5 separate regions of the Homo sapiens genome follow, and all the other regions are linked to region 2. Evidence: promoter capture Hi-C in human tissues and cell types (Jung and others, 2019). All regions are on one chromosome and are shown on one strand. Each heading gives the region's core, a stretch centred on a gene start or on the middle of the fragment in contact. The rest is flanking DNA. Distances are from core to core; before and after follow the strand shown.

Region 1 (5,279 bases), core at 618-3,117, 510 kb before region 2:
TCCACCTTCCCTGTGTTGCTGGGGCCGTAGCATACGTGTACATCTTATGGTTTAATTCATTTTTAGTTTCCATTTCTTTTCTATGAAACCCCCCTTAGGAGCCCAGCTGTGAAATGGGACCCTGTTAAAGATGTTGCAACGGGTACGAACACACAAACATCCTCCGCATGCTGGCCCAGCCTCCGGGAGCGTGGTGTGTGCCTGAGGGCTCGGAGCCTTGGGGATCGCAGGAGGCATCGGCCCTGGCTGGCGCCCGGCACCCAAGTCCCTCCACAGAGCCCACGACCCGTACCTCTCCTCGTGACCTGGGGGCCAGCTTAGGAAGGGCCGGCACAGCCCACACTGTTCCCCTCATCTGTGGGGAACAGGGAGCCCCACACCCTGGGACCACGCCTGCAGAGCGGGCCCTGTCTGGGTGCCAGGCCTGCTAGGGGACGGACGGCGAGAGGGACTGCCCTGCGTCAGGTGTGGCCCTGCGCTGTCCTCAGGTGGGGCTGCCCTCACAAGGAGGCTTTGTGCACAGCTTCCCCTCGCTGGGCCGAGCTGCTCTCCCCGCGAAGGGCACAATGGGGCATTGTGCAGAGCAGAAAAGGGCCTCTTGTTCCAGCTTCCAGCGCTCCGGGCTCCGGCTCTGCATTTGCCCAGGGTGGGAGCAGTCAGCGGAAGGGTCTGCTGGGAGCTCCTGTTCTCTCTGAGCTCAAGTTTCCCTCAGGGTCTGCTCTCTTGAGACGCTGACCGCAGGGGTCCCATCCACTGCCCAGAATGGCTCCAGAGCAGGTCACCGGGGGCAGGGCTTGGGCCGGGGAGAGGTGGACCAGCAGCTCTGGTCGTGCCCATTTCAGCCTGAATTTAATCAAAAGTGCACTGGGTTATGATTCAGCCATCAAAAAGAATCCAGGAGCCGGGCGCCTGTCATCCCAGCACTTTGGGAGGCCGAGGCAGGTGGATCACCTGAGGTCAGGAGTTCAAGACCAGCCTGGCCAACATGGTGAAACCCCGCCTCTACTAAAAATACAAAAAAATTAGCCAGGTGTGGTGGCGGGCACCTGTAATCCCAGCTACTCGGGAGACTGTGACAGGAGAATCGCTTGAACCCGGGAGGTGGAGGTTGCAGTGAGCCTAGATCGCGCCACTGCACTCCAGCCTGGGCCACAGAGCGAGACTCTGTCTCACTAAAATAAAACATAAAATAAAAAGGAATCCAGTTCTGACACGTGCTACAACACAGATGAACCTCAGAACATCAAGCTCAGTGGGACAGGACAGACGCGGAGGTCATGAGTTGCGTGAGCCCATTTACATGAAATGTCCGGGGTGGGCAAAGCCACGGGGAAAGGAGGGAGCTCTGTGGTCCAGGTCTGGGGACGGGGAGTGGGGAGCCAGTGGTCCGGGGGTAGGACGTTTTCTTTTGGGCTGATGAGAATCTTCTGGAACTAGGCGATGGCTGCCCAGCACTGTGAGGTGCTAAACACCGAGTCGTTCACTGGCAAATGGCTTATTTCATGCTATGTGAATTTCGCCTCGAATTTTAGAAAAGTAAAATGAGGCCGGGCACCGGGGCTCACGCCTGTAATCCCAGCACTTTGGGAGGCCGAGGCGGGTGGATCACGAGGTCAGGAGATCGAGACCATCCTGGCTAACACGGTGAAACCCCGTCTCTACTAAAAATACAACAACAACAACAAAATTAGCCGGGCATGGTGGCGGGCGCCTGTAGTCCCAGCTACTCGGGAGGCTGAGGCAGGAGAATGACGTGAACGCGGGGGCTGGAGCTTGCAGTGAGCCGAGATCGTGCCACTGCCCTCCAGCCTGGGCGACAGAGCGAGACTCTGTCTCAAAAAAAAAAAAAAAAAGTAAAATGAAAACAAAAGACAACAGACAGCCCTGCACTGGTGTTTCAGAATCGCCCGGAAGGCGCTGTCACCTGTCGGAATACATCATGTCATTTACGCTCACCTTACTTCTTTGTCTATATTAAGGCGCATCTAGCAGTTTAAAAATAACATTTAGATACAGGTGTGTCTTATTCTCTAAGAAGGCACTTCACTTAAAAACAGGCTTCTCTGCAAACCCAGAGTGAGCTGCAGCGGCCGGGAGATCGGCCAGGTGTGGTCCTTTCACCCTGCAGCTCAGTGTCCTGTGACCACAGGCACGTGGGCCCTGCCCTGAGCGCCTCACACCAACCCGAGGCGGGAGGAGGAGGAGGGCGTCCTGAGAGTGCCCTGTCAAGCAAAAACTCTAAGAGAAAAAGCCAGGCTGACCCAGGAGAGGCCTGAGGGAGGGGAGTGGAGATGAGGCTCGGCCACCCCAGGGCTGCCCGGTGCTGGGGGAGAAGACGCTGAGAAGAGGAGGAGAATGGGGAGGAAGGGACGGACACCCCAAGAGCACGCAGGCTGAAGACTGGGCTGCCTCCCCGGAGACCGACCAGCCTGCCCTAGGTGGGACCCTGTCCCCGCCGTCCCGGCCTGCGCCAGCACAGCCCCCAGGACCCAGGCACACACAAGCCCGTGGCTGGCCACGCTCCCAGCAGCTGCGGGCCGGCTTCAGGGAGGAATGAGCCCCTGTCGGCACCTCGTCCAGCTGTCCCCCAGCACCCCGGCCTGGCAGCTCCCGCCTCCTCGGGGCCATTGTCCCTGGCATGCGGTGGCAGCTGTCTCTGGCACCCGCAGGAAGCCAGTGTGGGCCCGAAGATAATCGTGCACCCTTCATTTACCCCAATTTTTCATGTCCTGAAGTCTGGGTATGGAAGGGGGGCCCAGGACCCGTGGATGCTAACATCTGTTGCCTCCTCCTGGAAGGGTGGTCAGTTTGGGCAGATCCTGCTGTGACTGTCCAGCGGCCAACCCCCCCACCCCCCACGTGAGGCTGGCAGGTGCGGGTGGGGGCTGAGAGAGCAGGTGTTGTGCCATTTGCTGGTTGTCCTGGGACGATGACTCACAGACGGCTGTTCTGCTTGGCTCACCCTGTCCTCTCCCTGCACCCTCGGCTACAGGTCACGAGTGTTCCCACCCCTGCACCCCAGAAGGAGATGCGGCTCCATGTGACCCTGCAAGCTGGCAAGCCATGGTTTCTAGACAGTGGAAAGCACAGCTCCCAATGTGGTGGTGTTCTCCGGTTGCAGGGCCCTATGTTAGGAAACGAATGTGTAATTTTTTTTTTTTCTCTAGGAATCATATTCTGCACTGGAAGAAGCCTTGAGAGTTGCCTGGCCCAGAGGTCACAAACCAGAGCCCTGCGGGCTGAGCTCTACCCACAGTGCAGTTATCAGTCACCGTGTAGCGGTCACCGACGGCCACATTAATGCTGCGTAACAAACAGCCTCAGAGCCCACCGTTGTGTGTCGCCAGGCGGTGCTGTCCATGCCCAGGCCCCAAGAAAGGCAGGGGAAAGGCTGAGCTGGGCCTGTGCCCTCTGTCCCTTCCTATGAGCCTCTAGAGCAAAGCTTTGCTGAAGGCTGTTGTCTGAACCAAGGCCACAGAGGAAGCACGCTCCCTGCTCCCACTTTGCCCCTCGTACCCGCCTGAGGGCATCTTAATTAAGCCTTCCTTCCCCACGCTCAGAAAAATAAATACTTGGGAGACAGCAGAGACATTTTCACAGGGTGTGTTTTCATTTGCCTTTGGCACTAATGGGTCTCTGGAACGTTCCATCCTGGCCGGGGAGGTCAGGGCCTGGGCGGCCAGGGCCCATTTCGAGAAAGCAGGTTTTCCTTTGTGGCATGCTTATTTCAAGCACCATTTTCCCTCCTGGTTATACTTGAAATGGGGCTCGGTGTTGGGAGGTTTCAAATGTGGACATTCCGGGCAAGGGGCCTCATGAACTCTGTGGACATTCTGGGCAAGGGGCCTCATGAACTCTGAAGGTTGAGCTTGGAAGGACGGACACAGGTCTTGGCAGCCTGAGTGGGTACAAACGCTGATTTTTCTGGAGTCAGTCCTCTCCTGCTGATGGGCTGAGAGAGCCCCCCAGGCCCTGTGTCCCTTCTCAGAGGACCTCAGCCCCCCAGTGCCTGGGCCACGGATGGGCTGGGGGCTGGGGCCCAGGGCCTCGCATCCTACAAGGGCCCAAGGGCTGAAATGGGGCTGGGGTCCCTGGATCTAGGGGATGAGGGCCCAGAACGAGGCTGGGGTCTGGGGTTCAGTGGAGCAATGACCAGGAATCAGGCTGCGATCTGTAGTCCAGGTGTCTGGCGTCAGACAGCACCCTCCTGTACACGGCACAGCTGTACTGCAGGGTTAGGGACAGGATTTACTGCCACCAACGGAAGCGTTGATTCCAAGTCTCAGACACCGCCCCCAGGCTGGGCCTCCCTCGACGGAAGGTGACGCTCTCTGGGAGGTCCTTGGTGCTCACCTCCCTGGCTGCTTGGGGCCCCAGGGCTCCTGCCTAGGGATGTTTTGGGGCTGCAGAAGGACCCTCTGCCCATTATCAGACGAGAAGTGCAGAGAGCAAATGCGTGCTGTTGGCGCCCCCCACCCCCACACTGAGAGTGGAGACGGATAGGCCCAGCCAGAAGCTTGGGGACCCGCTCCCAGCCTGGAGTGACGGACGCTGAGCAGCAGGAGCACAGCTGTTCCCGACACATCCGTGATCTGGGCGTGCACCTGTCACTGGGGAGAGAGCAGTGCTGGTCTCCACGCTTTGGGCATCGCCTGCTCCCTGAATCCTTTCCACATGCGAACAGCCTGGGCAGGGGTCCCCAGCGGTCAGTAGCTACTCCCGCCAGCGCGGGTTCACGGATCAGGAGGCTCCCAGTGTGTCAGGGGAGTGCGAGGTGAAGATGGGGAGGGCTGGGCTGGAAATGCTCGTCCTCCGTGGAGGTCGGGGGCATCAGGAGGACCAGGAGGACGTCTGGGCTGCAGGCAGACGTAAGCTGCAGCAGGGCCAGCTCTGGCTACAGAGGCCCAGAAAGCACTGCTCCTGCAAGGTGCCAAGAAAGACTCACTGAGTGGTTTTCCACTGCCCTGTGAGCGCCAGGAAGCTTAAGGCACAGACAAGGCCAGTTCTCAGGCAGACGCCACCCCAGCCAACAGGCCAGCCTTGACCCAAACCGGAACTCGTGCCCCAGCTGGCACTGCCAGCACCCGAGACAGTGAAGTACAGGGAGCTGCAACCCAGCCCAGAGCTCCAAGTGTGCGTGGCCAAGAAGCTGACTCCCGAAGGGGGTCTTGAGAGGGGTCCTGCGAACCCCTCCTCTCCCCTGGAGACCCGTCCGGGGGCGGGGCCTTTCCCAGCCTCTGCTCACAGCCTGCGCCGGCCCAGCCTGTAGTCACTCTGTC
Region 2 (5,799 bases), core at 1,625-4,124:
GAACCAGCGCCCGATCCCAGATAGCCAAGCCAGACATGCTCCCCACGAAGGCCTCGGAGCTGTCGAATCCGCCCCCCACGCTGTCTTGTTCCTGGCCCAGCACGAGGGACCCTCCGGGGGGGATCTCATAGCCCTCCCTGAAGCGGGAGCCGGTGGCCACCAGCCTGCGATCCACGTGGAGCCAGTACCTGCCCTGGGTGGACGTCCAGATGACACAGATGTGGTGCCACTGGCCGTCCAGCAGCAGCTGCAAGGGCAGCTCCCTGAAGGCCGGGTCCCCGATCACGAAGTGGATGGATCCGGGCAGCAGGGAGTCTCGGCCGTGCAGCACCAGCTTGTTGTCATTGTCCTCGGTGGCGTAGGACAGGAGGGTGCCCAGGCGGCCGGAGGCCGTGCGGACCCAGCTGCAGAAGGACAGGGCTCGCAGGGCAGTGACGAAACCAGGGCTGAGGAAGACCACGTTCCTGGTGGAGGCGTTTGGGAAAACGAGGGTGGGGCCCACGCCGCAAACTAGAAACAGAGGAGGGAGGGTCAACCCCTTGCAGGAGGCCGAGCAGAAGCATCCAGAAGCACACGTGCTGTGGGTGCCTGGCCTCCCACTCCCGGCTGCCACCCTTCACGGAGCACTGACTCTGCGCTGGCCCTGCCGATGGCTCCCCTGCAGCGTCTCCTTCACTCTCTTGATGGGATCACCCCAGTTCCACAGGCGGGAAGACTGAACATGAGGGCCGTACTCGGGAGTGGCGGGGTCCTGCTAGGAGCCCTAGCTGTCGGCCCACCCAGCTGAGCCAGCGCCCCTCACTGCCAGGGAGTCTCTGCAAATTTCATGACTCACAACAGCGCAGGTTTAGTGTTTCACATTTCTGGCGGTCACAAGGCCAACACGGTCTCCCAGGGCTCAAATCAGGTGTGGACAGGGCTGGTTCCTCTGGAGGCTCCAGGAGAAACCATCTCCCGCCCTTTCCAGCTTCCAGAGGCGCCTGCACCCTTCGGCGTGGGGCCTCCTCGTCTGTGCATCCCGCCACCTCTGCTTCTGCCCTCACGCCCTCCTCTGACTGTGTTCCTCCTGCCTCCCCTTAGAAAGCCTCTGTGATGACGGTGGGCCACCCCCCCCGATGATCCGAGACCCTCTCCCCATCTCCCGGCCCCTAACTGAACCTCTTTTGAGAAGCCTTTTCCAGGGGGCCTGGTCTAAGGAGGAGCTGGAGGGAAGCCTGGCCGTGAGCTGGGAGCCTGTGGTACTTACTCTCTCCTGGCACCTGGGGGGACCATGCCTGCTGCCGAGGGTCTTTTGGGGCAGTCCCACTGAGTACCCGATGGCTGCCTGAGGCTGGAGGCTCCCGCCTCCCTTGGAGAGGGGCCGAGGAGTCCTGTGGGGGGCCCCTGTGCTCAGAGGCAGCTCGGAGCTCCTGCCTGTCCCTCTGAAGCTTCAGGGAGGTCGGGCCCAGCTCCTCAGGCTGGGTTGGGGTTGGGACCAGGGCCGGCCCGAGGGCTGCAGTGCCAGGGTGGGCCACGGGCAGCCGCCCCTCCAGAGCAGCCAGCCTGGCGCCCTGGCTGTGGACGAGGCCCTCCAGGCGTGCCAGTGAGTCCTGCAGGGCGTCCCTCTGGGCCTTGTGTGCCTTCCTTTCCCGGGCCCGCTGCTGGCTCCTCTCGCCCAGGGTGAGGTCCAAGGCCCGCAGCCGCGTGTCTACTTTCCGGCCTCGGCGCTGCAGCTTCCTCACCCAGGCCTTGAGCTGCGCCAGCTCCCCCTGCACCGAGGCCTGTGACCGGTTGACTGCCTGAGCCACAGCCTGGCTCTCTTCCGCCAGGCTCCGGAACCGGACGTCAACGTTGTAGGACACGTTGTAGTTGCTGGCGATGTTCTGCAGGTGTGTCCAGGTCACCTCCTGGAATCTCCGGAACTGTAAGGAGGACACGGTGATGATGGGGCGGGCCGGGCCGGGCCGGCTGGGCGGGACGGGAAAGGCTTTGCCCTCTCAAGTTGGGAGCAGCGGCCGCGTGCCCGGGCCACGGCCAGCACTGGCTATCTGCCCACCGATTTGATCCCCACTGCGATGCCGTGAGATGTGGTGGGTGCCAGGGACTGACCCCAGGCCATGCAGCTGCACCACGTGGGGTGTGGACTCCAGGCCCACAGCTGGGGCTCTGATCCCCACCGCTCACCCCATAACCACCGGCAAGTCACTTTCCCTCGTGATTCCAGCTCCTGCCTGTGAGCAGGGGACGGCAGGGTGGCCTCATGAGTGCTTTACGAGGCCCAAACAGGAAGCACCCAGCGCAGGCCCGACAGGCCCACAGCACTCCGGAACTGTCCGTGGACCCCGCGTGGGAGTCCGGGAGGCCGTTCACACCGACTGCCACAAGGTGGACCTGTGACCTCCCAGTTTCCACTCCCCATGACACTACCCGGCCCCCATGGCCCCCAGTTCCCCTGACTCCCTTCCAGACCCCCTTCTAGCCTCTGGCCCCACCTGACCCCCACATGTTATGAGGCTTGTGTCCTGTGTGAGTGGAGCCCAGCTCAGCTCTTCCCTGGTGTCCAACTGCAGGTGAAATAATCTTCATGGATGGAAAGAGCGTCACACGCGGTGTTCGTGTCCGCCAAGCCCTGATGTTTACCAATCTGCTTCTGTAACATCCGTCTTCCATCTGCTGCCAATTTAAAAACCCGACTGCGCCATGTCAGGGGTATAACTTGCCTGTTCCTCCAGCCTACGGAGCCTCTCGAAAAACGGTTTCCTGGGCCCCACTGGGGCGGCTTCCTGCGATGAAGCCCCATGTAGATATATAGGCACAAAAACAAGGAAGAAAGACAAGGTCTTCCTCCACGAGCAACCCATCCGGAGAGACGGCAAGGCCCCAGCAGTCTCCCTCCAGCCGCAGGAGAGGGTGAAGGTGGCTCCGTGGGTCTGTCTTGTGTCTCGTCCCCCCAGCTCTCCTGTTGAGTGGTTTTCCTTCTTTGGCCCTGGCTGGATGTCAGGTTCTTCCTGCCGCCTCCATGAAAGGCATCTGCCTTCAAGCCAGTGGGCTCTGAGACTTGCAGGTTCCTAAGGAGACAAGCTTAAAACAGATGCAAACAGTTTCTTTGAAGAATCATTCAGCTGGGTGCAAGCCCGCGGGCAGGAGGCGATGGCTTTAACAGGAGCACATGGACTTGTGCTCCCGAGAAGTCGAAGCAAGACAGGGAACCCGACGGGGGCTGGGGAGTCAACAGAGCCAGGTCTGCACAGGCACCCATCACCCAGGCCGTGCACGGCTGCATCCTGGGAGGCCCCGTCTCTCTCAGTAAAGCAATGGAAATGTGACTGGGAGCCACCTTAATTAATTAATTATTATTATTATTTGAGATGGAGTCTCGTTCTGTTGCCTAGGCTAGAGTGCAATGGCGCAATCTCAGCTCACTGCAACCTCTGCCTCCCCGGCTCAAGCGATTCTCCTTCCTCAGCCTCCTGCCTCCTGAGGAGCTGGGATTACAGGCGTGCTTTACCATGCCCGGCTAATTTTAGTATTTTTAGTAGAGATGGGGTTTCACTATGTTGGTCAGGCTGGTCTCAAACTTCTGACCTCATGATTTGCCTGCCTCAGCCTCCCTAAGTGTTCGGATTACAGGCATGAGCCACTGCGCCTGGCCAATTAATTAATTTTTTTGACGGAGTCTTGCTCTGTCACCCAGGCTGGAGTGCAGTGGTGCGATCTCCGCTCACCACAAGCTCCGCCTCCTGGGTTTAACGGATTCTCCTGTCTCAGCCTCCCAAGTAGCTGGGATTACAGGTATGTGCCCCCACATCCGGCTAATTTTTGTATTTTTAGTAGAGACGGGGTTTCACCATGTGGGCCAGGCTGGTCTCAAACTCCCGACCTCAGGTGATCCACCCGCTGTAGCCTCCCGAAATGCTGGGATTACAGGCATGAGCCACCGCGCCCGGCCAATTTTTGTATTTGTAGTAGAGACGGGGTTGCCCCATGTGGGCCAGGCTGGTATTTTTGGTTACAGGTTGTGTACTGGCTTGAATGAGACCCTCCTAAAAACACACATAAGCCCCAGGCAGGGCCTTATGTGGAAAAGGTCTCTGCGGATGTCATGAAGGATTTTGAGATGAGACCATCCTGGATTATCCAGGTGGCCCTAAAGCCAATGACAGGGGTACAAGAGACAGAGGAGGAGGCACAGAGGACACGGCCTGTGAAGATGGGGCAGAGACTGGGGTGACGCTGCCACGAGGAACCCCCAGAGGCCCCAGAAGCTGGAAGAGGTAAAGTGGGAACCCCCAGCCCAGAGCCTTCGAGGGAGTGTGCACCTTCACTTCAAGACTTCCAGCCCCCAGAACTGTGATAGGACTCATTTCTGTTGTTTCAAGCCGCCCAGCTCATGGGAATAAGATCATCCACAAAGTTGTCCCACTGGGGGCATCCATCATTCCCAAGGTGGCATGAGCCAAGAGGGTGCCAGGCCAGGAAACCATCGGTGGCCCCCAGGCTCCCCTTGTCAAGCGTCAGAACACCATGGACATGGAGAAGATGCAGAAAGCATCGGAGAGAACATCCTGGGCACATGGACGGGGTTGGGGCCTTAGGCCCCGGGGGACTGGCAGCCACCAGGACAGCGACGCTGGTGCCACACACAGAGCGGCGGATCTCGCAGCTTCCAACTGACAGTGAGTTCCATTTATTTATGTATTTATTTTATTTCGGTAGAGAAGGGTCTTGCTATGTTGCCAGGCTGTTCTCAAACACTCCTGGGCTCAAGCAATCCTCCCAGCTCAGCCTAGCCAAAGTGCTGGGTTTACTGGCGTGAGCCACTGAGCCTGCCTGATTTCCATTTAAAGTTGTGGGTCGGGGCAGGGTGTGGTGGCTCTCTCCTGTAATCCCAGCACTTTGTGAGGTCAAGGTGGGCAGATCACTTGAGTCCAGGAGATCGAGACCAGGCTGGGCAACATGGCAAAACCCCGTCTCTACTAAAATTACAAAAATCAGCCAGACGTGGTGGTGTGCACCTGCAGTCCCAGCTACTTGGAAGGCTAAGGCGGGAGGATCGCCTGAGCCGGGGAGAAGGAGGTTGCAGTGAGCTGAAATCGCGCCACTACACTCCAGCCTGGGTGACAGAGCAAAGAATAAAGACATTTTCAGACACACAAAGGCTTGAGAAATTTGTCCTCCAAGCACCCACTGTTGGATGCGGGGCTTCAGGAAAAGAAGGGAATAGGGAAGGACGGAGCTGCCGTGGGCACTGGCGAGGGCTGGAACCCAGCAGCGGACGGAGGAGGAGTTTCCGGGATGATGGGATGCTGCCTGCCCCATATCCCATCCATCAGCTCTGCCTGCAGAGACATGCCCTGAGTTCAGCTGCTTCTCTACACCCCCATTCCGCCCCAAGCTCATCCTCACAATGGCCACCTAGTCCCCTCGTCCGTGTCGCCCCCCTACCGTCTGCTCTCCTAACTGCACCAGCATGGACCCGTGCCTTCAATGGCTCCAGGAGATGCCTGCCACACAAGCAAAATCTTAGTCCCTGCGAGGGCCTTCTGTGGCCTGGCCCACTGCCTCACTCCCTCCAGGCCTCACCCCTGCATATGCCTCCCTCGGCTCCACCTCCCGGGCAACAGTTGCGGCCTCAGGCCTTTGCACCTGCCGTTTTCCTGCCAGTGAGACTCTTCCCTGGCTGTCAACACATTCAGGGCTCTGCTCTAAGGTGTTCTGTTCAGAGCTCTCACCTTACGTAAGACAGCACCCACTGCTCTCTGGCTCTTTTCTTTTTTTTTTTTTTTGGAGGAGTCTCGCTCTGTCACCCAGGCTGGAGTT
Region 3 (5,410 bases), core at 802-3,301, 690 kb before region 2:
CTCACAGGATGGTGTGAGAGGGGCCGGGTGCGGGGCTCACAGGATGGTGCATTTGCCCTTTTCCACCCATGGGTTGTTCTTCATCAGGTCGGGGTTCAGGAAGGGGTCCTTGGGGATCCCGTCCTCGATCCACTTCAGCAGCCTGCGGGTGGGCGGGTGGCAGGTGAGTGGTGGCACCTGACCCCCGAGGGCCTCCTGCTGCACCTGCCTGTCGGCGGCGGTGGTCGTGGCTATGGAAATGAGCAGCCAGCGCAGGGCAGACAAATGAGAGGCAAATCAGGCAGGTGGGGCACTCACTCGGGGATGGTCTTGGACGCCATCTCCCGCTGGAAGGCCAGCTGGTACTTGAGGCTCTCCACCTCTTTCTTCATCTGTGGCACGTCCCACTCCTCCATGGGGTCAGGGGCTTCTGAAGCAGCCAGCCTGGGGCTGGAGGGCACAGGAGGAAGCCACAGGGCCGAGGCCACCAGCCTGTAGTCCCCACCCCCGCTGCTCCCCGCAGGCCTGAGCTGAACCCCGCAGGATGAAGCGGGGAGAGTCCACACCACTGCCTGGGCCAGTCCCCTAGGCGTTGCTAGGGTGCAGGGCACAGAGCGAGTTCCCACAAGGCCCCAGCTCCCGCCTCCTGCACTGGGACTAATTAACTGCAAGAAACTTTACATCCTCAGCTACTCCCCCATAGGCCCCCACACCTTACGAAGATCCCTTGCAGGCAGGAGAAAGGGTGCTCAGCACGGCAGGCCCCCAGCTCCTACCCTCCCACTGAGGCCCACGCAGGCTGACCCAGACCACGGTGTGAGGTGTGGGGCGAGGTCCTCAGGAGGTGGCCCCTGCCCCGCCCCGCTGTGTGCCCCTTTGCTTTGCATGGCAGAGCCCAGTCCAGAGCCAGGACTCCTGGACAGGAATGTTCTGCTGCAGTTTGCTTCTCTGGCAGGTGGGGTGTGTGCTCAGGATCTTGGGGGCTCAGGCTATACTACCCGAGTCTGGGATATGGGCTGTGGGTGGCCCCTGGGTCCCCAGTGTGTCTGGGAACCACACACGTTACCTGCGTGCTTTCTGCTTGTGGCCAGCCTGGGAAAGCCACAGGTTGACACCCCTCAGAACTGCCACAAGTTCGAGGCAAGTGGGGGTGGGTTGCCCCCTGCCTCTCCCCCTACCCACTCCAGGGGCCCAGGGAGTCCCTCACTCCGTCCCAACTCTGGCCCCCGTCCCCAAGGTTGGGAGACAGGGCTGAACCTTGGGAGGGTGGGTGGGGGTTGGCGTCAAGTTTCGGGGAGCCTGCCTCTGGCTGTGAAGGGGGCTCCTGGCCCAACAGTCTCCCCATCCTTTGGTCGTGCAGCTGCACCGGCCACCTAGGGAGGGGCCCAGGGCCTGAGGCTGGTGGGGTCCCGGTGGTGAATTGGGCAGACTCCCAGCAGCCAGCAGAGGGTCTGCCCGTAGTGGGGTGGGAGGCCGGGGAGCGAGCGGGGGCAGGTTTCTGGGGGAGTGATCAGGGTCATGCAGAGGATTCCCTCCCGGAGACTCTGGAGTTCCAGCACCCCTACCCGCCCCCATCCCCGGTGCAGGCCTTTTCTCGGAGACCCTACACTCAGCCCCGTGGGCGCAGGACTAGCTGCGTGCGGGTCCTCCCAGGCCCGGGGTGTTGGCGCCCCGCCCACAGCCCAGTCCTTGCTGCCCAGCCCTACCTTCGCGCAGCTGCCGCCAAGCCTGGCCACCCACCCCGTGCACCCCGTGGACGCCCCCAGCCACGGGACTCGGTGGGCACTGCAGGCGGCGCACGGCGCTCAGATGGACACAGCTCCCCCGCACCGCGAGAGCCGCCTCCCTGCCTGCAGCACCGGCTCGGGTTGGGTTTTGCTGCCTGCGGGGCAGCTGCCCTCGCCCCGGGAGTTAGGGTGAGCCCAGGGGACTGACCTGGGCCAGCTGAGAGTCGAGGGGCCTCCGGGCCCTCCCTAGCCCCGGGCGCCTGTTCATCGGACCTACCTTGAAAAGGTGACAGCGGAGGGACAATGACAACGGCCAGGCGACCGCGAGTGAGAGCGAGGGCCAAGTGATGTTCCGGGAGTCCGCCAGGCAGAGCCCTGGCTGTGCCCCGCCCCTCCCGCCACCTGGGCCCTGGCGCCGCCCCCACACCCTCCTCAGGGCTGGGCTGACCCCAGAGATAGCCTGTGCTGCCCCCTCCCCTGGGCTCACCCAGCGGATGGACATGCAGCCAGGGGCCAGTGTGGGGCTGGTCCATTTTCCCTGAGGGGCCAGCTTGGGCCCTGGTGGAGAGGTCTCCTTCCACTTGAGGGGGTGGGTTCCCCCTCCAGTGTCCTGGGCCAGCCGGGAGGAGTGGGGATGGGGCTGGGACCCTTTGCCCTCTGAAGCCTCTGCAGCCTGCAGGGTTCAGGTGACACTCAGCTGTGCCCCCCTGACAGAGGCATCCTGTGTGGGCCATGTGGCTCACCCTGGGATGTGAGCCTCTTACTGCTAGGGGCCCCGGGGCTCTGTGGAGCTCCCTGCTCCAGCCCGATCCCCTGTTCCCAGACCAGTGGCCGGCACGGGGCAGCTCCCGAGGGCAGGAGAGTGCCGTGCTTTTCAGTCTGATCTGAGCTGAGAGTGGCGGCCTGAGGCGTCCCCAACACCGGTCCACTGTGGGTGCTCTGGGGCACGCTGCCTCGGGAGAGGTGCCCCCAGCTGCAGCACTTGGGCTCGGGTTGTGTGACCTCAAGGCTCTGGGGAGAGGGCTTCCCTTTGGGGCTCCGCACCTGTCAGCCTGCAGAGCTGAGACTGGCCCCTTTTCCTCTGACACGTTTCCCCGTGTCTCCTCCCACCCTGCCCTTGGGTGTACCCCTTGGGCTCCTGTGGGAGCTGTGCCCTATGTACCAGCAGGTGACGTACATACCAGGCTGCATCCTAGGTGGGGGCGCCCAGGCAGCAACAGCAGCCTCTGGGGGCACAGGGCCAAGCTCCCCAAACAGTCCCTGCAGAAGCTGGGCCACCCCCGGGGAAGCGTGGGCCAGGCCCTCGGTGGGTGCTGGCAGGGCCAGGGGCCTGTGAGCAGGTCACTCTGCCTTCCCCAGTGTCACAGGGAACCGCCCGGCCTGCCTGGGGTGGCCCAGACCTCTGCAGGGGTTGTCGGGGAGAGGTGGGCCCTGTCCCTCTCAGGCGCTCAGGTCCCTGAAGTCACTCAGCAGGACTCCCTGCCAGTGTGACTCCGTGAATCGGGGCCACCTGCACCTCCCGCCCTGATGTGTGTCGGCTGGATCAGAGGCGCCTCTGGAACTGGGGCACATTAGGGAAGGGATTATTTTTATTATGGATTTGGGGGTGGGGTGGGGCAGCTTAAAGCCCAGGGCACGAGGCCTCCTCCTCAGGGCAGATGGTTGCCCCTCTTGGCATGGTGGGGGCTAGACGTCTCCCTGATCCCAGTGCCCGCCCTGCCCTGCCTGTGCCCCCTGGTGCTGTGACTTCGGATGCACCTTAGTTTCTGGGCTGCTGAGGGCTCTCCCTGTGGCTGGGGGCACCACTTTGGGCGCCAGAGAGTGGAATGGCTGTTAGGGGAGGGGTGTGTGCCACCCCAGGATGCAGGCAAGGCGGGGGGGACCCCAGGGCATGTCCCCCACGTTCCCTGGGACAGCAGGTGGCTTGGAGCCAGGGCCAGGCGGGGGAACACCCTGAGGTCCGCAGCTGAGTTGTGAGAGCTGGGGGTTCTGTGGCCACTCTCAGGACCCCAAGCGGCCTTTGCATCTGCTCATCTGGAAGGACCTAGGAGGTCTCCTAATGGGGTCGCCAAGGCTCCAGGTTCTGGCTTTTGGTCAATTCACTGGACCCAGTAAGGTCCCTGAGGGTGCCTGAGCTCTGTCCAACACGGCCAGTGCCCCCAGTGAATCAGGACACAGGTTGGAGTGTGGTGTGGGCCACCAGGACAGGTGAGACGGGCCGTGGGGTCACGTCCTGGAGTGAGCACTGCCCTGTGGTCCGGGCAGGTCCTGCCAGTCCTCAGCATCTCAGCAGAGAAGTGGCTGTGTGTACCTGCATGGTGGACCCGGCCTGCCTACCTGAGCAGGGTCTGGGTGACCCCCAAGGCCAAGGGCAGGAGGAGGTTGAGGGAAGTGGGGGCAGGGCCAGGGCAAGCTGAGGGTTTTGGGTCTGCTGCAGGCCCATGTCCCAGGCATGTGATGTGGGTCCCGTCTCTCACCCCACTTCTGTGGCGTTTCTGGTCGCTGGGGGGGCACCAGTCAGCCTCGGTGTCGTGTGGACCCCCAGAATCAGAAGCAGGTCCTGTGCTGACCTGGGTGGGTGCAGTAACCTCTGCTCCCGTGTGAGGGGCTGTGAGGTCCCATCCTCAGTAAGACGGGGGTCTTGAAGACTGACTTCGACCTTCCTACCAAGGCTGCACTCGGAAACCCCCAAACACATCCGGGCGCTGACGCCTTGAGCTGGAGTCAGCCTCGGGTCTGGAATCTGCCTCCCCCGGCCCTACAGCTGGACCCGGCTTCAGCGATTCTCATTGGGAGGAATGGCAGCCAGTCCCCCAACGGAGTGACCACAGCCTCCCGAGGCCAGGGGCTCCTTTCTGAAATTAGGCCACTAATTGGGCCGCTGGCTGAGAACACGCAGGGCTCTTTCCGCTGCCCTAGAAATAGCTGTCCCTGGCCCGAGGGGCTCTTGACCCACCAGGCGTGGGGCTGTGCCGCTGGGCCTGGCTTGGGGCAGGAGCATCGAGACCTCCCATTTACAGCCAACCAAGACCGTGGGGGAAGCACAGGAGGCCGGAGGCCCTTCACGCTGACTTTAGGGCTTGGTACCACACTGGCATAGGGGGCTCTGATCCCTTCCTAGCGGGAAGCTGCAGCAGGGTCTCCCGGGACTGGCCTCTCGCTGCGGCCTCAACTCCGAATGGGTGGGGGAGACAGCCCCCGACACCAGTCAACTCTCCGGGGAACAGAGGGATAAAGTGCTGAGCTGGGGACCAAGGACCAGTCCCATCCTCCACCCGCCTGTGCCCTAGGCTCTGCAGAGGGCTCTGGCTGTCCTAGGGGGACCCTGTGGCCTGCAGGACCCAAGCAGCCCGGGGGTGGTGGGTGAATGTGTGTGGAGGACACGCTGACTTCCCTCAGTCCCTGCAAACAAAACTGCAAGCGTGGGGCCTGGGGAAATAACGAAGGCAGCTCCTCACCAAAGAAACTCACTCCGCCTAGTTAACTGGAGCTCACGGCAACGACTTTTCTGTCATCTGTGAAAGTTTCAAAGTGATTTTCAAAAACAATTGAAGCTCTTAAACCCAAGCACAGAAAACACAACGGAAAACTTCAAGGGATGGGGTGGGGGGAGGGGGGAGGGATAGCATTAGGGGATATACCTGATGTTAAAAGACGAGTAAATGGGTGCAGCACACCAACATGGCACATGTATACATATGTAA
Region 4 (4,862 bases), core at 1,367-3,866, 560 kb after region 2:
TCCCAGCTACTCGGGAGGCCGAGGCAGGAGAATAATTTGAACCTCGGAGGCGAAGGTTGCAGTGAGCTAAGATTTCACCACTGCACTCCAGCCTGGGCAACAAGAGCAAGACTTGGTCTCAAAAAAAAACCCAACACGATCGTATCTGGCCCATCACTACTGAACAGCCATTGGCCACTACTATTATGATTGCTTCGTGAATCATCACACTACCCTTTAAAACAAATTTTTTTTTTTGAGATGCAGTATCACTCTTTCACCCAGGCTGAAGTGTGGTGGTGCCATCTTGGCTCACTGCAACCTCCGCCTCCGGGGTTCAAGCGATTTTCCTGCCTCGCCCTCCTAAGTAGCTGGGGTTACAGGTGCCTGCCACCACACCTGGCTAATTTTTGTATTTTTAGTAGAGACGTGGTTTCGCCACATTGGCCAGGCTGGTCTCGAACTCCTGACCTCAGGTGATCCACCCGCCTTGGCCTCCCGAAGTGCTGGGATTACAGGCCTGAACCACCATGCCTGGCCCATACTACCCATTTTACAGACAAGCAAACTGAGGCTCAGAGAGGCCTGTATCCAAGCCACCTGGTAGCAGAATAGGGATTAGAACTCAGCTTGGTCTAAGGGTTTCAGGCCCTGGGACCGTGAAGCAAAAGGAACTCTTCCTTCCTGATATCACACAAAGCCCAGGTCACGCCTGCACTGGGCAGAAGTTCGAGCACGAGGCCCTAAACCACTGGTGTCCTGACCTGCTGAGTGGCTACAGTGATGCAGGCGATGCTCTGGGGCACCGGGTGTCCATCCTCCCAAGGTGCTGTCTGCAGGGGAGGGTGCCAGCCAAAAGCCACCGGGTAGAAAGAAAACAAGGACCTTGCTAAGATGGGGGGTCATCTGGGCAGATGGGGCCCCTGCCTACCTTTGGGGGGGCACTGGAGTCATAGCAGTGCTCAGTCCCCAGATGGTCCACAGGTGCATCCTTTTTGTTCCTCATGGCACGGATGTTGACCAGCTGTTGCTGCCAGTCCTGGGGCTCCCAGACTGGCACCTTGAGGGGCTCAGCCCCCTCACCTTTCTCACTGTCCGAGCCCTCATAGGCCACACGCAGTCTCTGTGCTTTCCGCGGACGCTTCACGGGGCTGTGGCTTTTCCTCGCTTCTGCAAAAAGCACCACGCAGTCCCTCTGGTGGGGCCACAGGTGAAGGTAGGGTAGGGGTGCCATCCCGCCTGCTAGCTCACCCCTCACTCGTTCATGCCACAACTGTCCATCATCTAATACACTTGGGGTGCTCTGCCCTCTGCAGTCTGGGGTATGTGGGCCCTCCTTATGCCAGCGACCCTGACAAGGTCCATGTTAGCTCATGAGGACTCTAGCAACAGCCTGTACCAAGGTGCCCCCAATACATCTTCTATACTGCACCAGAGACAGTCTGCTAACACCCACATCAGGTTGTGTCACTCCCTTTTAAAAAATCCTGGCCGGCCGGGCGCGGTGGATCAAGCCTGTAATCCCAGCACTTTGGGAGGCCGAGGTGGGTGGATCACTTGAGGTCAGGAGTTCAAGACCAGCCTGGCCAATATGGCAAAACCCCATCTCTACTAAAAATACAAAAGTTAGCCGGGTGTGGTGGCAGGGGCCTATAGTCTCAGCTACTTGGGAGGCTGAGGCAGGAGAACTGCTTGAACCTGGGGGGCGGAGGTTGCAGTGAGCTGAGATCACAACACTCCACTACAGCCTGGGTGACAGAGCAAGACCCGATCTCAAAACAAACAACAAAACCTCCTAATTGACTTCCGTTTACTGTCATAATAAACTCCAAACTCTATCCTGGCATCAAAGCTCCTGCCACCCTGGCTGGCATCACCACCTGCCTGCTCCCAGCTGCACCAGTTCCTCCTGACATAGTCTGGACTACCCCTGGGGTCCCTGGGTGCCTATGGGAATCCAGCTCTGGCCAATTCTGCAGAAGTCCCAGCGGGACTAGCGCAGAGGCCCTGTCCGTGTCCCTCACTGCTCACTGCAGTGCTTGGCCCCCAGCAGGTCCTCAACGGCTGCAGGATAAATATAATAAGTGCCATGCCCTTTCCTGTTTTCCCTCAGAGGCACCCTCCCCCGAGCTGGGGGAGCAGGCTTCTGGCTGCGTGTGTCCTTGGCACCCAGCCTCTCCGAGGACAGCAAGTTCACTGCAGGAGGGCGGGGATGGGACCCACAGAGCCTGGAGTGGAGAGTCCCGGACAGAGTGGTGGGAAAGGAAGCGTTTTCTTGCTTGGGGCGAAAGGGGGCAGCGGAGCGGAGCGCCCGAAACCCAGCCCCTGCGGACCGCAATCTTTGGGAAAAAGGCGCAAGGTGGGAACGCAGGGCCGCACGTGGGAACCGTTCGCGGCTGCCGGGTTTGCAGCCCCTGCCCGCGCAGCTGGGAGCCGCAGGAGGCGGCCCGGGACTCCAGCCTGCAGCCCCTATCCCGCCTCCTCCCACGCTCCAGCCACGGCGCGGCGCTACCTGCTGCAGCCTCTCTTCTCCGGAGAGGCCCGGGCTCCTCCCTACACCCCCGCGGCCCAGCCCCGGGTCCCAGGCTCCGGCTCCGGGTCAGCATCCTCGCGCTCAAGGCGGTCATGCCGGACTCCTGCGGACTACACATCCCGGCGGCCCATGCGGCCCCGTCACGTGATGCAAGGATCGCCGGCCTTTCCGCCAGAGGGCGGCACAGAACTACAACTCCCAGCAAGCTCCCAAGGCGGCCCTCCGCGCAATGCCGCTACCGGAAGTGCGGGTCGCGCTTCCGGCGGCGTCCCGGGGCCAGGGGGGTGCGCCTTTCTCCGCGTCGGGGCGGCCCGGAGCGCGGTGGCGCGGCGCGGGGTAAGTGGCGGTCCCCACGGGGCAAGTGGCGGTCCCCACGGGGCAGCGGCCTAGAGAGGCGGACCCCGCAGTGTCCGGGTCCCGGGCCCTCACCCGCGCCCACTGCAACCCGACTCCGGAGCTCCGAGCATCCCTTAGTTTTAAGTCATGGCGGGTGCGAACGGGTCTCTGCTGCAGGCGGCTCCGTGACAGCTCCTGCTTCACATGGGTAGAGGAGAGACGGCAAACGTCGGGGCTCCCAGGACTTCGCGGCGGCAGTCCTAACCCGTGCACTGAGTCGGGCGGGGCGGGCGGCAGCGTCTGAGTAGAGAGCTCTCTAGACCAGGCCTGGTGTCTCCCGGGCTTTCCTAGGTGCCTGTTTGCGAGCTGGTCAGCTGGGCTGTAGTTGAGTTCTCCCAGGGAGTGTGGGAGGAAAGGTTATGCCCACCAGAGACCCAGGGTCCTGACGGCTGGAGGTCCGCAGTGGGGAAGGTGGGCAGAGGTGTTGCTCAGATGTCCCCATTCCTGTTTCGTTTGCACAGAGGGGTTTTCTGGTGCGTCCTGGTCCACCATGGCCAAACCAACAAGCAAAGATTCAGGCTTGAAGGAGAAGTTTAAGATTCTGTTGGGACTGGGAACACCGAGGCCAAATCCCAGGTCTGCAGAGGGTAAACAGACGGAGTTTATCATCACCGCGGAAATACTGAGAGTGAGTGAGCTACCTGTGTCTTTGCTAGGCTAGAGGGAAATGCAGAGAAGGCTGGGTTTGGTCTTGCACCAGGTTCTGTGGGAGACGGGTTGCTGGCAACTGTCTACACAGGAATGCTGTCTCCAGTACTTGGAGGCCGACATGTCCTTCCTCAGGAGACTTCGAAAGTCAGGATCTTGGTGACCTGGTTCAGGCACACTTGAGTTACTATTCAGATGTTGATGAAAGAAAGCCCATCTTATAGATGAGGCCTGAGTATCATCATCTTCACAGGTAAGGATATGTCCAGGTGTTACATGATAAGATGTGAGTTCCTGGGAGAAGTAGGTTCTTTATTTTATTTTTTTTTTGAGACTGAGTCTTGCTCTGTTGCCTAGGCTGGAGTGCAGTGGCACAATCTCTGCTCGCTGCTACCTCTGCCTCCCAGTTTCAAGTGGTTCTCCTGCCTCAGCCTCCTGAGTAGCTGGGACTACAGACACGTGCCACCACACCCATTTAATTTTTGTATTTTTAGTAGAGATGGAGTTTCACTATCTTGGCCAGGCTGGTCTTGAACTGCTGACCTCAGGTGATCTGCCCGCTTTGGCCTCCCAAAGTGCTGGGATTACAGGCATGAGCCATCGCACATGGGCTAGGTCGTTATCTTTTATGTGTGTTTGTGTCTTTGTCACACATGCCTGGCATTGTGTTTTGCCCATGAGTAAATGCTGAATTTTTGCACTTGTAAAGTTTTCTACTTAGAAACAACTAAAACGTTCATCAACTGATGAATAAAATATAGTCCATCCTGGCTGGGTGCGGTGGCTCACGCCTGTCATCCCAGCACTTTGGGAGGCCGAGGCGGGTGGATCACCTGAGGTCAGGAGTTTGAGACCAGCCTGGCCAACATGGCGAAACCCCGTCTCTACTAAAAATACCAAAAATTAGCCGGTCATAGTGGTGGGCGCCTGTAATTCCAGCTACTCGGGGGGCTGAGACGAGAATTGCTTGAACCCGGGAGGCGGAGGTTTCAGTGAGCCGTGATCGCGCCACTGCACTCCATCCTGGGGAAGAAGAGCAAAACTCCGTCTAAAAAAAAATTGTGCAGTTTGAAATTGTATTTCATGTTATGTTTTATCTCAATACAACATTTGCAGTTGTGAAAAAAAATTGCACATTCTCAACTCCTCGGGATGGAGCAGTAAAGCCCCTCAGTAAATCTTTTTTTTTTTTTTTTTTTGAGACCGAGTTTCGCTCTTGTCACCCAGGCTGGAGCGCAGGGGCGCGATCTCGGCTCACTGCAATCTCCGCCTCCTGGGTTCAAGGGATTCTCCTGCCTCACTCTCC
Region 5 (5,243 bases), core at 1,536-4,035, 680 kb after region 2:
TGGGTGATGAGTGGCATCTTGAAGGCGCATGCAGGGCGGGCATGGCCAAAGGGACCCAGTCAGGAGGGACTGATGGAGGAGGTACTGGAGCCAGCTGGGCTCAGTGATGCCCCCTGAGCTGTGCTCCTGCTGGGTGGGGGCAGAGACCAGCTCCGCCACTTTGGCCTGGGACTGGGACTGTCCTGCTCCTCTCAGGCCCCTGGGGCCTTGGTTTGCAGCCCGGCTTCCCCAGGGTGAGAGCAGGGCCGCAGGAGTGGGCTCCCTGCTGCTGCACCGCCCCCAGAGCAAGCTTGTTCTGAGGGCTCCTGCCTTGGGAGCTGAGCCCATGGTGTGTCCTCATGGGGTGCTGCGCATGGGCCTCGAGGTGGACAGTGCAGGTGGGCCCGGGGCAGGAGTCCTGGGCACGTGGCCTTCCTCCCCACAGGGAGCTCAGCTTCAAGCCGGGGCTCGGCTGCGCTATCCGCTGCCAGCAGGAGACAGGGCTGTCCCAGCTGCATTCTGCCAGGCTCCTGGCTTCCAGGCTGCCCAAGTCCTGAAAGTGGGACCTGCTCGGGAGGAGGGGCGCCTGCTGACAGAGCCTGGTGCCTCACGGGGGGAGAGTGGGCGTCATCCAGCATGGACAGCCCCTTCCCCGGGCTCTGTCCTGGGTGTGACCTGTTGGCTGGGTCTCTTTTTCTCTCTAATGTTTACCTTCCCCTACTGGTGTCCCTGGGCCTGGCCAGCACTCCCAGCACCCACGGAGGGGCCACGTCTCCCCCAGGCCCACCAGCCCCTCTCTTCTGGGGAGGGTGATTCCCGCATGCCTTCTCCCTGCCCCCCCACCCACCAGCCCCTGAGCCCCTGTGGCGTGGCTGGGAGTGTGGGTGACCTGCACGGGTTCCAGGGGCGGGCTCATCTCTCTCCTGTGCTTTTTTCCGTGCAGTGCGGTTTGTGTGGAGTTGGGCTCCGGTGACTCACCCTGCAGGTTCTTTCTCTGGGGTGTGGCTGGTGTCTCCCCGCTGCAGCCTGGTGCTGGCTGGGTCCTGACCGCACCTGTCGTGGCAGGAAACACATTCGTCGTGCCTTGGCTGGTCCCTGTGTGACTGCGTCCCGCCACGTGGGCCACACCCTGGGCCTACCCACCAAGGCCCAGCCTTGGCCCCAGGGACATTCAGCCTGGAGGTGACTGGCTGTGACTCAGGACCCAGAGGAGTAGAGGGAGCCAGGCAGGGGTCCCTCCACCTCGGGGAAGAGCTGGATGGGCTCTTCGGGAGCTCAGAAAGGCTAAGCCTTGAGGGACGGTGACGCAGAGCCGCCTGCCTGCCCGGGCCTCTGCATACCTGGGATCGGGGTGAAGGACCTTTGCCTCCTAGAGGCCTGCCTGAGCCGGGGCTGGTGGTGGAAGGCTGCTGCGGCGGCCCCACGGTGCCCCACAGCAGGTCTGCACACTTGCAGCAGCCCGTCTGACTCACAGGGGCCTGGGCTCCATCTCTCAAGCCCCTCATTTGTGCTCCACCCACAGGAGGTGCTTCCCAAGGACCGTAGATGCCTCTCTAGAGCATGAGCTCAGGCAAGAGTGCCCGCTACAACCGCTTCTCCGGGGGGCCCAGCAATCTTCCCACCCCAGACGTCACCACAGGGGTAAGGGTGTGCCCCTCTGCAAGCCCAACATCCCCAGGACCCCCAGCATGCCCCAGGGATCTGGTGTTGCCTGCAGAGCTCCCAGCGCAGTCCCGTCCCGAGCTGGGGTCTCAGGGGAGCTCGGTGGGGGGGGGTGTGGTGTGTGTGTGTGTGTGTGTGCGCGCGCGCGCGCGCGCGCGCACGCGTGCGTGTGTGGTTGGGGCGTGTTAGTGCTGTGTGGCGCGGCCTGGTTGCATGGTTAAGCGTGTGAGTGCTGCGTGGCGCGGCCTGGTCGCATGGTTAAGCGTGTGAGTGCTGCGTGACCTGGCCTGGTCGCATGGTAAAGCGTGTTAGTGCTGCGTGGCGCGGCCTGGTTGCATGGTTAAGCGTGTTAGTGCTGCGTGGTGCGGCCTGGTCGCATGGTTAAGCGTGTGAGTGCTGCGTGGCCTGGCCTGGTCGCATGGTTAAGCGTGTTAGTGCTGCGTGGCCTGGCCTGGTCGCATGGTTAAGCGTGTGAGTGCTACGTGGCCTGGCCTGGTCGCATGGTTAAGCGTGTGAGTGCTGCGTGGCCTGGCCTGGTCGCATGGTTAAGCATGTTAGTGCTACGTGGCGCGGCCTGGTCGCATGGTTAAGCGTGTTAGTGCTGCGTGGCGCGGCCTGGTCGCATGGTTAAGCGTGTGAGTGCTGTGTGGCGCGGCCTGGTTGCATGGTTAAGCGTGTGAGTGCTGCGTGGCGCGGCCTGGTCGCATGGTTAAGCGTGTGAGTGCTGCGTGGCCTGGCCTGGTCGCATGGTTAAGCGTGTTAGTGCTGCGTGGCCTGGCCTGGTCGCATGGTTAAGCGTGTGAGTGCTGTGTGGCGCAGCCTGGTCGCATGGTTAAGCGTGTGAGTGCTGCGTGGCCTGGCCTGGTCGCATGGTTAAGCGTGTTAGTGCTGCGTGGCCTGGCCTGGTCGCATGGTTAAGCGTGTGAGTGCTGTGTGGCGCAGCCTGGTCGCATGGTTAAGCGTGTGAGTGCTGCGTGGCCTGGCCTGGTCGCATGGTTAAGCGTGTGAGTGCTGCATGGCCTGGCCTGGTCGCATGCTGAAGCGTGTGAGTGCTGCATGGCCTGGCCTGGTCGCATGGTTAAGCGTGTGAGTGCTGCGTGGCCTGGCCTGGTCGCATGCTGAAGCGTGTGAGTGCTGCGTGGCCTGGCCTGGTCGCATGGTTAAGCGTGTGAGTGCTGCATGGCCTGGCCTGGTCGCATGGTTAAGCGTGTTAGTGCTACGTGGCGCGGCCTGGTCGCATGGTTAAGCGTGTTAGTGCTGCGTGGCGCGGCCTGGTCGCATGGTTAAGTGTGTGAGTGCTGTGTGGCGCGGCCTGGTCGCATGGTTAAGCGTGTGAGTGCTGCGTGGCGCGGCCTGGTCGCATGGTTAAGCGTGTGAGTGCTGCGTGGCCTGGCCTGGTCGCATGGTTAAGCGTGTTAGTGCTGCGTGGCCTGGCCTGGTCGCATGGTTAAGCGTGTGAGTGCTGTGTGGCGCAGCCTGGTCGCATGGTTAAACGTGTGAGTGCTGCGTGGCCTGGCCTGGTCGCATGGTTTAGCGTGTTAGTGCTGCGTGGCCTGGCCTGGTCGCATGGTTAAGCGTGTGAGTGCTGTGTGGCGCAGCCTGGTCGCATGGTTAAGCGTGTGAGTGCTGCGTGGCCTGGCCTGGTCGCATGGTTAAGCGTGTTAGCGCTGCGTGGCGCGGCCTGGTCGCATGATTAAGCGTGTGAGTGCTGCGTGGCGTGGCCTGGTCGCATGGTTAAGTGTGTGAGTGCTGCGTGGCCTGGCCTGGTCGCGTGTTAGGCATGTGAGTGGGCTCCACATGTGCACGTCCTCCTTGTGTCCCGGAATGAGGCCAGGTCTCCTCCGTCCTCCCTCTAGACCAGAATGGAAACGACCTTCGGACCCGCCTTTTCAGCCGTCACCACCATCACAAAAGGTGAGCCCTTAAGCCAAGGCCAGCCCAGGCTGGGAATAACCGGGGCACCCCCATGCCCACCCTGCTAAGGACTGAGGGACACTTCCCGGTGAGCTGGTGTTGGGTGCCAGTGCTGGGCGCGGGCAGCCTCACACCGCAGCCTGTGTCCTCACAGCCTCTCAGCCCTGGGCCTCCCCACTGGACAGGAGTCGGGTGTCCTGCTCCTTGTGCCTCGGTGACTGTGCTGTGCCCTCTCTCCCTGCCCTCTTCATCCCCTCTAGGGAGGCTTGCCCTGACATCTCCAGCACCACCACACAGCCCTGTCCCTTGTCACAGTGATCCCCAGCTTGTCCCCAGTCTCAGGCTCCTGGCCAGCCTCCGAAAGGTCCCGTGTGCCCGGAGGTCTTCTCTTGAGTTTGGCCCTAGGGCTTCAGTAACAGTGCTGCAGTTGTGACATGTTAATAGGAAGGGAGGGAGAGTGGAAGAGATCCATAAGTCTGGTTTGTTTTTTTGAGACGGGTGTCACTCTGTCACCCAAGCTGGAATGCAGTGGCGCAATCTTGGCTCACTGCAACCTGTGCCTCCTGGGATCAGTCCTGCCACCTCAGCCTCCCAGGTAGCTGGGACCACAGGCACCACCACACCTGGCTAATTTTTTTTATGTTTGGTAGAGATGAGGTCTCACCATGTTGCCCAGGATGGTCTCAAATTCCTGGGCTCACGTGATCCTCCTGCCTTGGCCTCCCAAAGTGCTGGAATTACAGGCATGAGCCAGCAAGCCAAGCCCAATAAATCTTCACCTGCACAAGACCACTGGGCGGGATACACGACAGAAACCTGAAGCTTCCCTGCTGCTTCTCAGTCCTATCCCCTAAAAACCAGAGTGCTGCGCTTTGAACGCAAGCGCCGTGCTCAGGGAGACCATGCGGAAGTGGCAGTGCCTTCTTCCCGAGGTGCAGGGCCAGGGACCCTCATTCCGGGGTGGGGTTCTGGGGTGACTTTGTTCTCTCTCCTTTCTGGCACTCTGCCCTTTGTAGAAGCACACTGGCTGCTAATTAGCTTTTTAATTGCTCTGATAAACCTGGCCATGGGGTCATAGGGCCGCCAAGGACACCTGCTTACAGTAGCGCCTCTTTGCTGCTGGTGATCCCCTCAGGGGCTCTCCAGGGGCCCTCTTTTTTTTTCTAATCCTACCCCCCAAAAAACGGTGCCTTTTCATCTACCCTTAGAAGCCCCATGGCCCCTGTCACACGGCGGAAGGTACCCATGATGGGGCAGGGCACGGCTGCTATGCCTGGCCCCTCGGCGGCAGGGATGGGCAGAGCCAGGCAGCAGGGCGCCCACAGGTACCTCACCTGGCCCCTCATGACAGATGGGGAAACCGAGGCCCAGTCACACGGCAGCCTCTCGAGGCCTCAATCTCGAGCCCAGGGCTCATCGTGACATCTGAGCTGGGCTGGTCCTGAGTCCGGGAGGTGTCTCTCTCTGCCTCCCACGTGGACTGACCGGCCGGTAGCCCTGCCCTCTGGCCCTGGCCAAGCTGGGGTGACGTGTGGGCAGGAGGAGGGAGGGCACTTCAGCTCCTGCCCCAGAGGAGGCCACCAAAGCTGGGGCCACTTCCTGGTCCTGGCTGTGCCAGGGACACCAGGATGCGGTCCTGGCCCTTCTGTATCCCAGCCCACACCTCAACCTCAGCTTCCCCCTCTGTG

The links. The method cuts DNA at HindIII sites, captures the fragments that hold promoters and counts their contacts. A contact is called where the count stands out against the background at its distance.
Region 1: a contact is called between a fragment that was not itself captured here and the fragment with the promoter of PTX4 in region 2, in 2 of the 25 tissues and cell types used here (mesenchymal stem cells and spleen).
Region 3: the fragment with the promoter of GNG13 here is called in contact with the fragment with the promoter of PTX4 in region 2 in 2 of the 25 tissues and cell types used here (dorsolateral prefrontal cortex and lymphoblastoid cells).
Region 4: a contact is called between the fragment with the promoter of NTHL1 here and the fragment with the promoter of PTX4 in region 2, in 1 of the 25 tissues and cell types used here (spleen).
Region 5: a contact is called between a fragment that was not itself captured here and the fragment with the promoter of PTX4 in region 2, in 1 of the 25 tissues and cell types used here (spleen).

The regions. Positions count from the first base shown.
Region 1 is chr16:972,174-977,452 of GRCh38, forward strand. It overlaps LOC124903620 (a long non-coding RNA gene), which reads left to right and starts at 1,896. Exons shown (of 2, transcript XR_007064935.1): 1 at 1,896-2,438; 2 at 3,168-3,585. It overlaps CEROX1 (cytoplasmic endogenous regulator of oxidative phosphorylation 1), which reads right to left. Exons shown (of 3, transcript NR_164343.1): 3 at 3,588-4,920. It also overlaps a transcript of LMF1 not described here. RefSeq lists an enhancer at 1-980. The HindIII fragment of the contact is 4,224 bases long and covers 1-3,979 here.
Region 2 is chr16:1,486,070-1,491,868 of GRCh38, forward strand. PTX4 (pentraxin 4) reads right to left here and starts at 2,875. Exons shown (of 3, transcript NM_001328608.2): 1 at 2,700-2,875; 2 at 1,247-1,901; 3 at 1-510. The coding sequence starts at 2,840. The HindIII fragment of the contact is 5,905 bases long and covers 2,244-5,799 here.
Region 3 is chr16:798,683-804,092 of GRCh38, forward strand. GNG13 (G protein subunit gamma 13) reads right to left here and starts at 2,052. Exons shown (of 3, transcript NM_016541.3): 1 at 1,984-2,052; 2 at 298-429; 3 at 1-142. The coding sequence starts at 395. The coding sequence ends at 37. RefSeq lists enhancers at 1,741-2,290, 2,291-2,840, 2,841-3,390, 4,208-4,752, 5,297-5,410. The HindIII fragment of the contact is 13,916 bases long and covers 1-3,804 here.
Region 4 is chr16:2,045,218-2,050,079 of GRCh38, forward strand. It overlaps NTHL1 (nth like DNA glycosylase 1), which reads right to left and starts at 2,617. Exons shown (of 6, transcript NM_002528.7): 1 at 2,492-2,617; 2 at 911-1,149. The coding sequence starts at 2,606. It overlaps TSC2 (TSC complex subunit 2), which reads left to right and starts at 2,768. Exons shown (of 42, transcript NM_000548.5): 1 at 2,768-2,848; 2 at 3,370-3,536. The coding sequence starts at 3,399. RefSeq lists enhancers at 2,021-2,520, 2,112-2,171, 2,622-2,711 and a silencer at 2,802-3,031. The HindIII fragment of the contact is 27,107 bases long and covers 1-4,862 here.
Region 5 is chr16:2,162,382-2,167,624 of GRCh38, forward strand. It overlaps TRAF7 (TNF receptor associated factor 7), which reads left to right. Exons shown (of 21, transcript NM_032271.3): 2 at 1,502-1,620; 3 at 3,498-3,555. The coding sequence starts at 1,540. Among named protein-coding and RNA genes, the nearest start is that of TRAF7, 9.2 kb to the left of the region's middle. RefSeq lists enhancers at 589-1,090, 1,091-1,590, 2,000-2,773, 2,774-3,546. The HindIII fragment of the contact is 6,093 bases long and covers 1-5,243 here.